2 separate regions of the Homo sapiens genome follow, and region 1 is linked to region 2. The links are contacts of gene promoters, found by promoter capture Hi-C in human tissues and cell types (Jung and others, 2019). All regions are on one chromosome and are shown on one strand. Each heading gives the region's core, a stretch centred on a gene start or on the middle of the fragment in contact. The rest is flanking DNA. Distances are from core to core; before and after follow the strand shown.

What was found. The method cuts DNA at HindIII sites, captures the fragments that hold promoters and counts their contacts. A contact is called where the count stands out against the background at its distance.
Region 1: a contact is called between the fragment with the promoter of GPR150 here and a fragment that was not itself captured in region 2, in 1 of the 25 tissues and cell types used here (heart right ventricle).

What each region holds. Positions count from the first base shown.
Region 1 is chr5:95,617,203-95,621,466 of GRCh38, forward strand. It overlaps GPR150 (G protein-coupled receptor 150), which reads left to right and starts at 2,885. Exons shown (of 1, transcript NM_199243.3): 1 at 2,885-4,264. The coding sequence starts at 3,074. RefSeq lists enhancers at 2,441-3,056, 4,253-4,264 and silencers at 3,226-3,625, 3,716-3,765, 3,783-4,077, 3,786-4,235. The HindIII fragment of the contact is 8,865 bases long and covers 1-4,264 here.
Region 2 is chr5:96,680,003-96,683,931 of GRCh38, forward strand. The region is part of intron 2 of CAST (calpastatin); the gene reads left to right. Among named protein-coding and RNA genes, the nearest start is that of CAST, 20 kb to the left of the region's middle. The HindIII fragment of the contact is 4,670 bases long and covers 1-3,590 here.

The DNA.
Region 1 (4,264 bases), core at 1,635-4,134, 1.1 Mb before region 2:
ATAAGGAGTACAATGAGGTCTCTTACCACTTAGTTCTCAGGCTTTGTACAACCTTGTAAACCTTATGAAATATTAGATGATGTGTTCTACCAAAAAGGAAGAAATCAAGGAGAAAGACCAGAGATCCAAGAAACAGGAACTGCAACCCAAGAGAAAGGCAGAAAGTTTCAATGACGACAACAAATGGAGGTCCGCAGATGGTAGTTATGCAGTAGGCCTTGGGAGAAATTAGCCCAAATAAGAGAAAAATGAAAGTCTCTGGTAAAGAGGTTTCCGTGAAAAAAAATTGGAGCTGCTATATTACGTTTTGAAACTGACCTTGTGGAAATTGCTTGGGGGGACTATTTGAGGGTACAGGAAGAATTAGCTATGATAACAATGAAAAGTAAGAAAAGGCAATTATTAACTTTAAAAATAACAAAAAATAATATTCACAATATACAACTCAACTGTGAATATTTTTGTTTCATAATAATATAAACACCAAATATAAGTCTAACCCAAAATTACAGTATTGTTCTAATGGTATGGGAAATGGAAATAGTGACAGAGGTGCGAGAGATAAGTCTTTAATAAGAAGTTAACAGATAATATATCAATTTGTTAAATCAATGAATAGCATTACATATATATTATTTACTATTATGAATTAAGTCAATGCCAGAAGAAAGAGCAAATAGAGTCTAAATTGGTTCCCTCTAGAAAGAGGGGATAAAGAAGTGGAGATGTATAGGACAGGGAACTCTTTATGTTATCAGCCTTCTAGTTCCATTTGACTTTCAAAACTATGTGCATTGTATAATTTTAATAAGAATTAGTTTAGGCCAGGCCCAGTGGCTCATGCCTGTAATCCCAACACTTTGGGAGGCCAAGGTGGGCAGATTCTTGAGCCCAGGAGTTTAAAACTAGCCTGGGCAACATGGCGAAACTTAGCCTCTACAAAAAATACAAAACTTAGCTGGGTGTGGTGGTGTCTGCCTACAGTCCCAGCTAGTTGGGAGGCTGAGGTGAGAGAATCACCTGAGCCCAGGAAGTCGAGGCTGCAGTGAGCTATGATCATGCCACTTCACTCCAGCCTGGGCAACAGAGTGAGACCCTGTCTCAAAAAGGGAAAAAAAAAAAAAAAAAAGAATTTGTTGAAAATCAATGTTTTATCAGATCTTACTAAAGTTCTGTGAAATTTCACTATAGTCATTTTGAAATGCTAATATATAAGAGCATTTCAACAAATTTGAGACAAATGATAGACTATCTTGAGAAACACTGAAATGATACTGGCTAGGAAAATCACTGAATGATGAACATTGCTCAGAGAAGGCTCCCTGGAAGAAGTGCATTATAAACTGGGATGATGTGTGTGCATAGAAAAAGGCCTTGGATAAAAAGTTCTAAAGGGAGAGTATGAAAATCAAACCAGGATTTTAGATTTTCCAAGGCTATCACTCTAGCTTTCTTAAATGTCCCACCAGGAACACTTATTCCTATGTCTCCACAGAGCTTCCTTGGGCTCCTCTGGACAATACTGGCATAGTATAAAAGGAATTTTTTCTTAGGTGATGGATTTATAGTCAAGGCAGGCATTTATGCTCGAAGGTATCTGAAAAGCATCGTATATCCACTAATTCATCAACTCAACACATACCCACTGATAACTACAACCTGTCAGACCAGAGCGAGGCACCACAGAGATGATGATGAAAATAACCAAGGTTTCTGGCCAAAGGACAACAGCTTGGGAAATGGGATTCCTACAGCAGCTGGCAGGACTATCATGGAACCCACCAAATCTTCCTAGGCCATGAATCTTAAAGTTCCAAATGTTTCCTCAGATTGGGAATGTGAACCCTAGACAACACTCATACCTCCCTGGCCCCCAGGCCAGGAAGTACAGGAAATTCTACTTTCACCATGATTAACGTGGAGGGTGCATAAAAAGACAAATGGATGCTTCCAACAGGGAAACTAAAATGTGTTTGTGAGGAGACAAGGCTAAAATGAAAGCAGCAACATTTAATCTAAACCATTTCCTGTGACTTGGATTTCTTTTTTAAAAAAATTGGCCGCCTTATCACTTTCTTAGTCACCTTTTCTCTAGGCTTATTGGAGGCGTAGCCCCTCCTAGCAACTTCCCATCTGCTGGAAAACAGAATCAAGAGAATGAGGAGTGTGATGACGCATCCTTCACTGGATGAAAATATTAGGAGAAAAGCAATAAATGCACTACCATTTGCATAAAACCTATTAATGCCCTCTTCAGACTAATGAAATGAATTTTACATCACCAAGAAAGCAGCTGTGACCCACTGCTCCTAGTATTTGGAACGATCTGCAACACTGCCACTCCTAAAAGCAACATCATTGACTTTAGTACCCTCTAATTAAAATACTTTCATTCTTGGACAGAGAAGACACATCTTGATCAAAATTCAGCTAATAGGTCTCCTCTTTGCTCAAAACGCTGTTAGGTTTCTTGTGTTCCTGTTTTTCTCATGCTCGTGCAGATCCATGGCATTTCAAACCTTTAAAATAAAAACTAATGTCTTTTCTATTTTTTTCCTACTGGCAATCACATTGGGGTGGTGGGGGCGTGTGGTACAATCTCAGTCAAGAGGTCCTCTCTTGTGTGGGTGCTGGCATAACACTGGCCGTATACAATGGCCAAGCAAAGCGACATTCTGTCCTGCTGTGCTTTACACGTAAATAGAGAATGGATGAGGTTCTCAGCGCCCAGGGGTCCGCGGCTTCCGCGAGGGTAGCGTCGGGGGCCGCTGCAGAGATTGGAAGAGTACCCGCCGGGAATGGGAGGGAAGACGCGGGGAAGGTGGAGAATAGGAATCATGTGTGTTCCTCGAGTGTACAACCCACATTTGAGTGACAAATCACGAGGACAATCGACAAAAACAACTAAGCGCAAAGCCGCCCGAATCCATCTCCCTCTCTGTGCGTGTGCCTTTTCAACTAACTTTGGGAACTCGTATAGACCCAGCGTCGCTCCCCGCGCCGCCTCGCCTCCACTTTGGTTTCCCGCGTCCTGCCCGCCCTCTTCGGTGCCTCCTCTTCCTCCGGGACAAGGATGGAGGATCTCTTTAGCCCCTCAATTCTGCCGCCGGCGCCCAACATTTCCGTGCCCATCTTGCTGGGCTGGGGTCTCAACCTGACCTTGGGGCAAGGAGCCCCTGCCTCTGGGCCGCCCAGCCGCCGCGTCCGCCTGGTGTTCCTGGGGGTCATCCTGGTGGTGGCGGTGGCAGGCAACACCACAGTGCTGTGCCGCCTGTGCGGCGGCGGCGGGCCCTGGGCGGGCCCCAAGCGTCGCAAGATGGACTTCCTGCTGGTGCAGCTGGCCCTGGCGGACCTGTACGCGTGCGGGGGCACGGCGCTGTCACAGCTGGCCTGGGAACTGCTGGGCGAGCCCCGCGCGGCCACGGGGGACCTGGCGTGCCGCTTCCTGCAGCTGCTGCAGGCATCCGGGCGGGGCGCCTCGGCCCACCTCGTGGTGCTCATCGCCCTCGAGCGCCGGCGCGCGGTGCGTCTTCCGCACGGCCGGCCGCTGCCCGCGCGTGCCCTCGCCGCCCTGGGCTGGCTGCTGGCACTGCTGCTGGCGCTGCCCCCGGCCTTCGTGGTGCGCGGGGACTCCCCCTCGCCGCTGCCGCCGCCGCCGCCGCCAACGTCCCTGCAGCCAGGCGCGCCCCCGGCCGCCCGCGCCTGGCCGGGGGAGCGTCGCTGCCACGGGATCTTCGCGCCCCTGCCGCGCTGGCACCTGCAGGTCTACGCGTTCTACGAGGCCGTCGCGGGCTTCGTCGCGCCTGTTACGGTCCTGGGCGTCGCTTGCGGCCACCTACTCTCCGTCTGGTGGCGGCACCGGCCGCAGGCCCCCGCGGCTGCAGCGCCCTGGTCGGCGAGCCCAGGTCGAGCCCCTGCGCCCAGCGCGCTGCCCCGCGCCAAGGTGCAGAGCCTGAAGATGAGCCTGCTGCTGGCGCTGCTGTTCGTGGGCTGCGAGCTGCCCTACTTTGCCGCCCGGCTGGCGGCCGCGTGGTCGTCCGGGCCCGCGGGAGACTGGGAGGGAGAGGGCCTGTCGGCGGCGCTGCGCGTGGTGGCGATGGCCAACAGCGCTCTCAATCCCTTCGTCTACCTCTTCTTCCAGGCGGGCGACTGCCGGCTCCGGCGACAGCTGCGGAAGCGGCTGGGCTCTCTGTGCTGCGCGCCGCAGGGAGGCGCGGAGGACGAGGAGGGGCCCCGGGGCCACCAGGCGCTCTACCGCCAACGC
Region 2 (3,929 bases), core at 6-2,505:
GCTAAAATATAATTATTGGAAAAAAATTAGAAAGTACCAGAGAATTTAATGAAAATAAACACCCTTGGCCAGGCGTGGTGGCTCATGCCTATAATTCCAGCACTTTGGGAGGCTGAGGTGGGCGGATCACAAGGTCAGGAGTTCAAGACCAGCCTGGCCGATATGGTGAAACCCCAACTCTACTAAAAATACAAAAATTGGCCAGGCGTGGTCGTGGGTGTGGGCGCCTATAGTCCCAGCTATTCGGGAGGCTGAGGCAGGAGAATTGCTTGAACCTGGGAGGCGGAGGTTGCAGGGAGCCAAGATCACACCACTGCACTCCAGCCTGGGCAACAGAACGAGACTCTGTCTCAAAAAAAAAAAAAAAAAAAAAAAAAGAAGAAGAAGAAAAGAAAAATGGAAAATAAACACCCTCATCTAGGATTCTAGCACCTAGAGAAATGGGCACTATGTACATCTTGGTGTATTTTCCTGCATCTTTTTTCTTTGTTTGCTTATTTTGTTTACTGAAATGCTGCATATCTTGATTTTTAAGCAGAAATAGCAAAGGAACACCATTATAGGGCCTAGTCTGAAAATGATAAATAATGTGCTTTGTGATAGATAAATCTTTTCCAATTAAAAAAAGACCCATCAGTGTGTGTGGCATTTAAGTATATAGAAAACCATTATTCAAGCACCTTGGCATTCAGTATGGCATTTAATGTTCATTATTTTGTGCTCTGTTTTTGAAGGGAGGAGAAATTTACTTCTTATTCAAGAAGTAATTTGTGACAGTGTTCCCACAAGTGATTTAGCTGTCATTAGCAAGTTCTAGAAGAGTACTGCAGCAAACATTTTAACATTCTTTTATGTCATGACAAGAGAGTTCATACTAGTTGTGGGGAGTCGATTGTGGCTGCACAAGCTCATGTCTCAGTGCCAAGAAAAGCTAAGCCGAAAAGCTGCACCGAGGCAGTCATGCCTGGCTCACCGGGATATCTAGCCCCAAGAGGCCAGCACAGGCTCGCACTGGGTGCGACTTGGGAGCTGAGTCTGACTTGGGAGGCTAAAGTGACTCTGGGAAGTTACAAGATTCTTTTCAACTGTGGTTTCCCCATTTTTTCATTTGAAATTTTCATTTATTGTTTCATTGACCAGAGTATTTTCTAAGATATTTTTTTCAGGGAGGGAGCACAATGATGATTTTCTGAGTGTGTGAATGTAAGCATGTTTTCTCGTTGGTGACTCACAAGAAAGTCCATCAATACAAAATTGTACAACATCCTTGGGTCACAGTTTTGTTCCTCAAAATTCTGTATCTATTGCTTCGTGGTTTTCTGGCTTTTTGTGCTTCAGAGATGTCTGAGGCAGCCTACTTTTGACTTACTTTTTAGGAAGCCTATTTTTCTTGCCTTGGTGCAAGATTTTTTTCTTTTGTTCTTACAATTTAAAAATACTACCAGGATGGGCCGGGCGCGGTGGCTCACGCCTGTAATCCCAGCACTTTGGGAGGCCGAGGCGGGCGGATCACGAGGTCAGGAGATCGAGACCATCCCGGCTAAAACGGTGAAACCCCGTCTCTACTAAAAATACAAAAAATTAGCCGGGCGTAGTGGCGGGCGCCTGTAGTCCCAGCTACTTGGGAGGCTGAGGCAGGAGAATGGCGTGAACCCGGGAGGCGGAGCTTGCAGTGAGCCGAGATCCCGCCACTGCACTCCAGCCTGGGCGACAGAGCGAGACTCCGTCTCAAAAAAAAAAAAAAAAAAAAATACTACCAGGATGTACTTATATATTAATATGTGTTTTTCTTTATTAATTTGTCTTGGAATGTCTGTTATTTCATTATTTCTTTAATTATTACTCTTGTTTCGGTTTCCCTTGTTTCTTCCTAAACCTACATATGCAATAGTTCCTCTTTATCAGCTGTTTCGCTTTTCATGATTTCAGTTACCCACGGTACAATACAATGAGATATTTTGAGAGAGAGAGACCCCATCCACATAACTTGTATTACAGTATATTGCTATAATTGTTATATTTTATTATTAGTTATTGTTGTTAATCTCTTACTGTGCCTATTTTAGAAATTAAACTTTATTATAGGTATGTATGTATAGGAAAAACCATAGTGAATACAGGGCTCAGTACTATTTGCAGTTTCAGGCACCCACTGGGGAATCTTAGAATATATCCACTGCAGATAAGAGAGACTACTGTAATTCTGACATTAGACATTCACTAATCATCTGCCTCACAATTTTCTTTTGCTGACATTTACCCTTGCACTCTAGGAGAGTTTCTGAAGTTTGCCCCCCACATATTTTATTTCTAAATTCTGCTCTTTGAAACTTCTAATACAGGTTTAAATTTTGGTTTTCGTTTTTGGTTTCTTTGTGTCCCCTTCTTATCCTCTCTTACCTCTTTGTCTCACTCCATTATCATTCCATCTCAATCTATAGCTCTTTACTCCATTTCATGAAGGTAATACCATCTTGTTTCCTATCAAGGATGTACACTTTTGTCTGAATTTTCTTCTTATTCTGTATCATTTTATGAGATCTGTCTTTTTCAGTCTTCGGGGTAATGATGCCCTCTGCCTTTCTCTGTGGTGGTTTTGAGAGGCAAAATTTCTTTCTGATTACTCTTTTAAGGAGAGCTTGGCCTACTCCTAGAGCTTGTCAGCTGTGATGAGCACATTGTCCTTAGCCCTGCTCTTCATCTATGTCCCTGCTAACTAAATCTCCTCAGACCTACAGCTGTTTGGCAGGTGAATATGCACAATGCTGGTAAAATCCCCACTACCTAGTGGACTTTCATTCATTACAGAACATCCACTGTATGAAATGAGATGCAGGGAATAACTCCATTTTTTAGCAAGGATTGCTAATGCGGCTTTTTTTACCTCCACCCCCAAGAAGGCCACTTTGTACTTAGGACAACTACTCCCCCAGGTGCAGCATGCTACTGCCACACCCTGCGCACAACCCATCCTCCCACACCCTGCCCACTCCACTGAACGCACCAGATTTCTGCTTAGTTGGTTTCCAGGATTTGGATTTGGAATCTTTGACTTGGGTTAGAAAGAGAGGCACTAATGGGGAATAAAGATAGGTTGCCTCATGAAGAGGACTCCTACCAAAGAGGTTTGACTGCTAGGTTTTCTAGATGGCTACATTTCTGTGTGGAGTATGAGCATTCAGGAAAGAGGGGGTCTTTCAGGGACATAAGCTTGCTCTGTTTCAGATGCATGACACAAGTGGTTCACCAATTGTGCTTTTCAATATAGTTCCATTGGCTTCGATTAGGATGGAGATTCTGCCTAGATTTTTGGCATTTGGTAGGCTTCCTTTAGTGTTTGGTTAAGTTCTGCTCTCTTCTATGAGAAAATGAAAAAATAGAAACTTCTAGAGACAATATTTTATACCAGGAATTCTTGAAATTGGCTCATAATGACAGTGTTCAGCTTCTTGAATCAAGCTCCTCTATTCTAGTTTGCTTGGAGTGAAACCTATGAAATGGCTTTCCACTTTAAACTCTGTTCTGTGTATCATTCAGCCCCTCATGAGTTTTAACAGAGGGGCAGGAGGATTACTAGCAGGACATGATTAATCATCACAGGGCATTTGCATCACCTCTTTTGTGGTATTTCTCTGTGTGGTCCCGGTACATTTGTCTTTCTCTATAAGTCTTCATAATGTTGGTCACTGCTTGTTTTCCTATGAGCAAAACTTATTTACATAGATATTAGAATTATTTTCCTATGTGGAATGTGTCAGATAGGTTTTCATGAGCACTGCATGAATTTAAGTTCAAAGCTACAATTAAAACTCCTGGCATTATGTAGACATTAAAGCAATCTATTTATCCTAAGATACAAATTCAGTTTGAATTCTGAGAGAAATTTAGAAAATTTACAAAATTTAGGACAAAAACTCTGTGCCATTCTG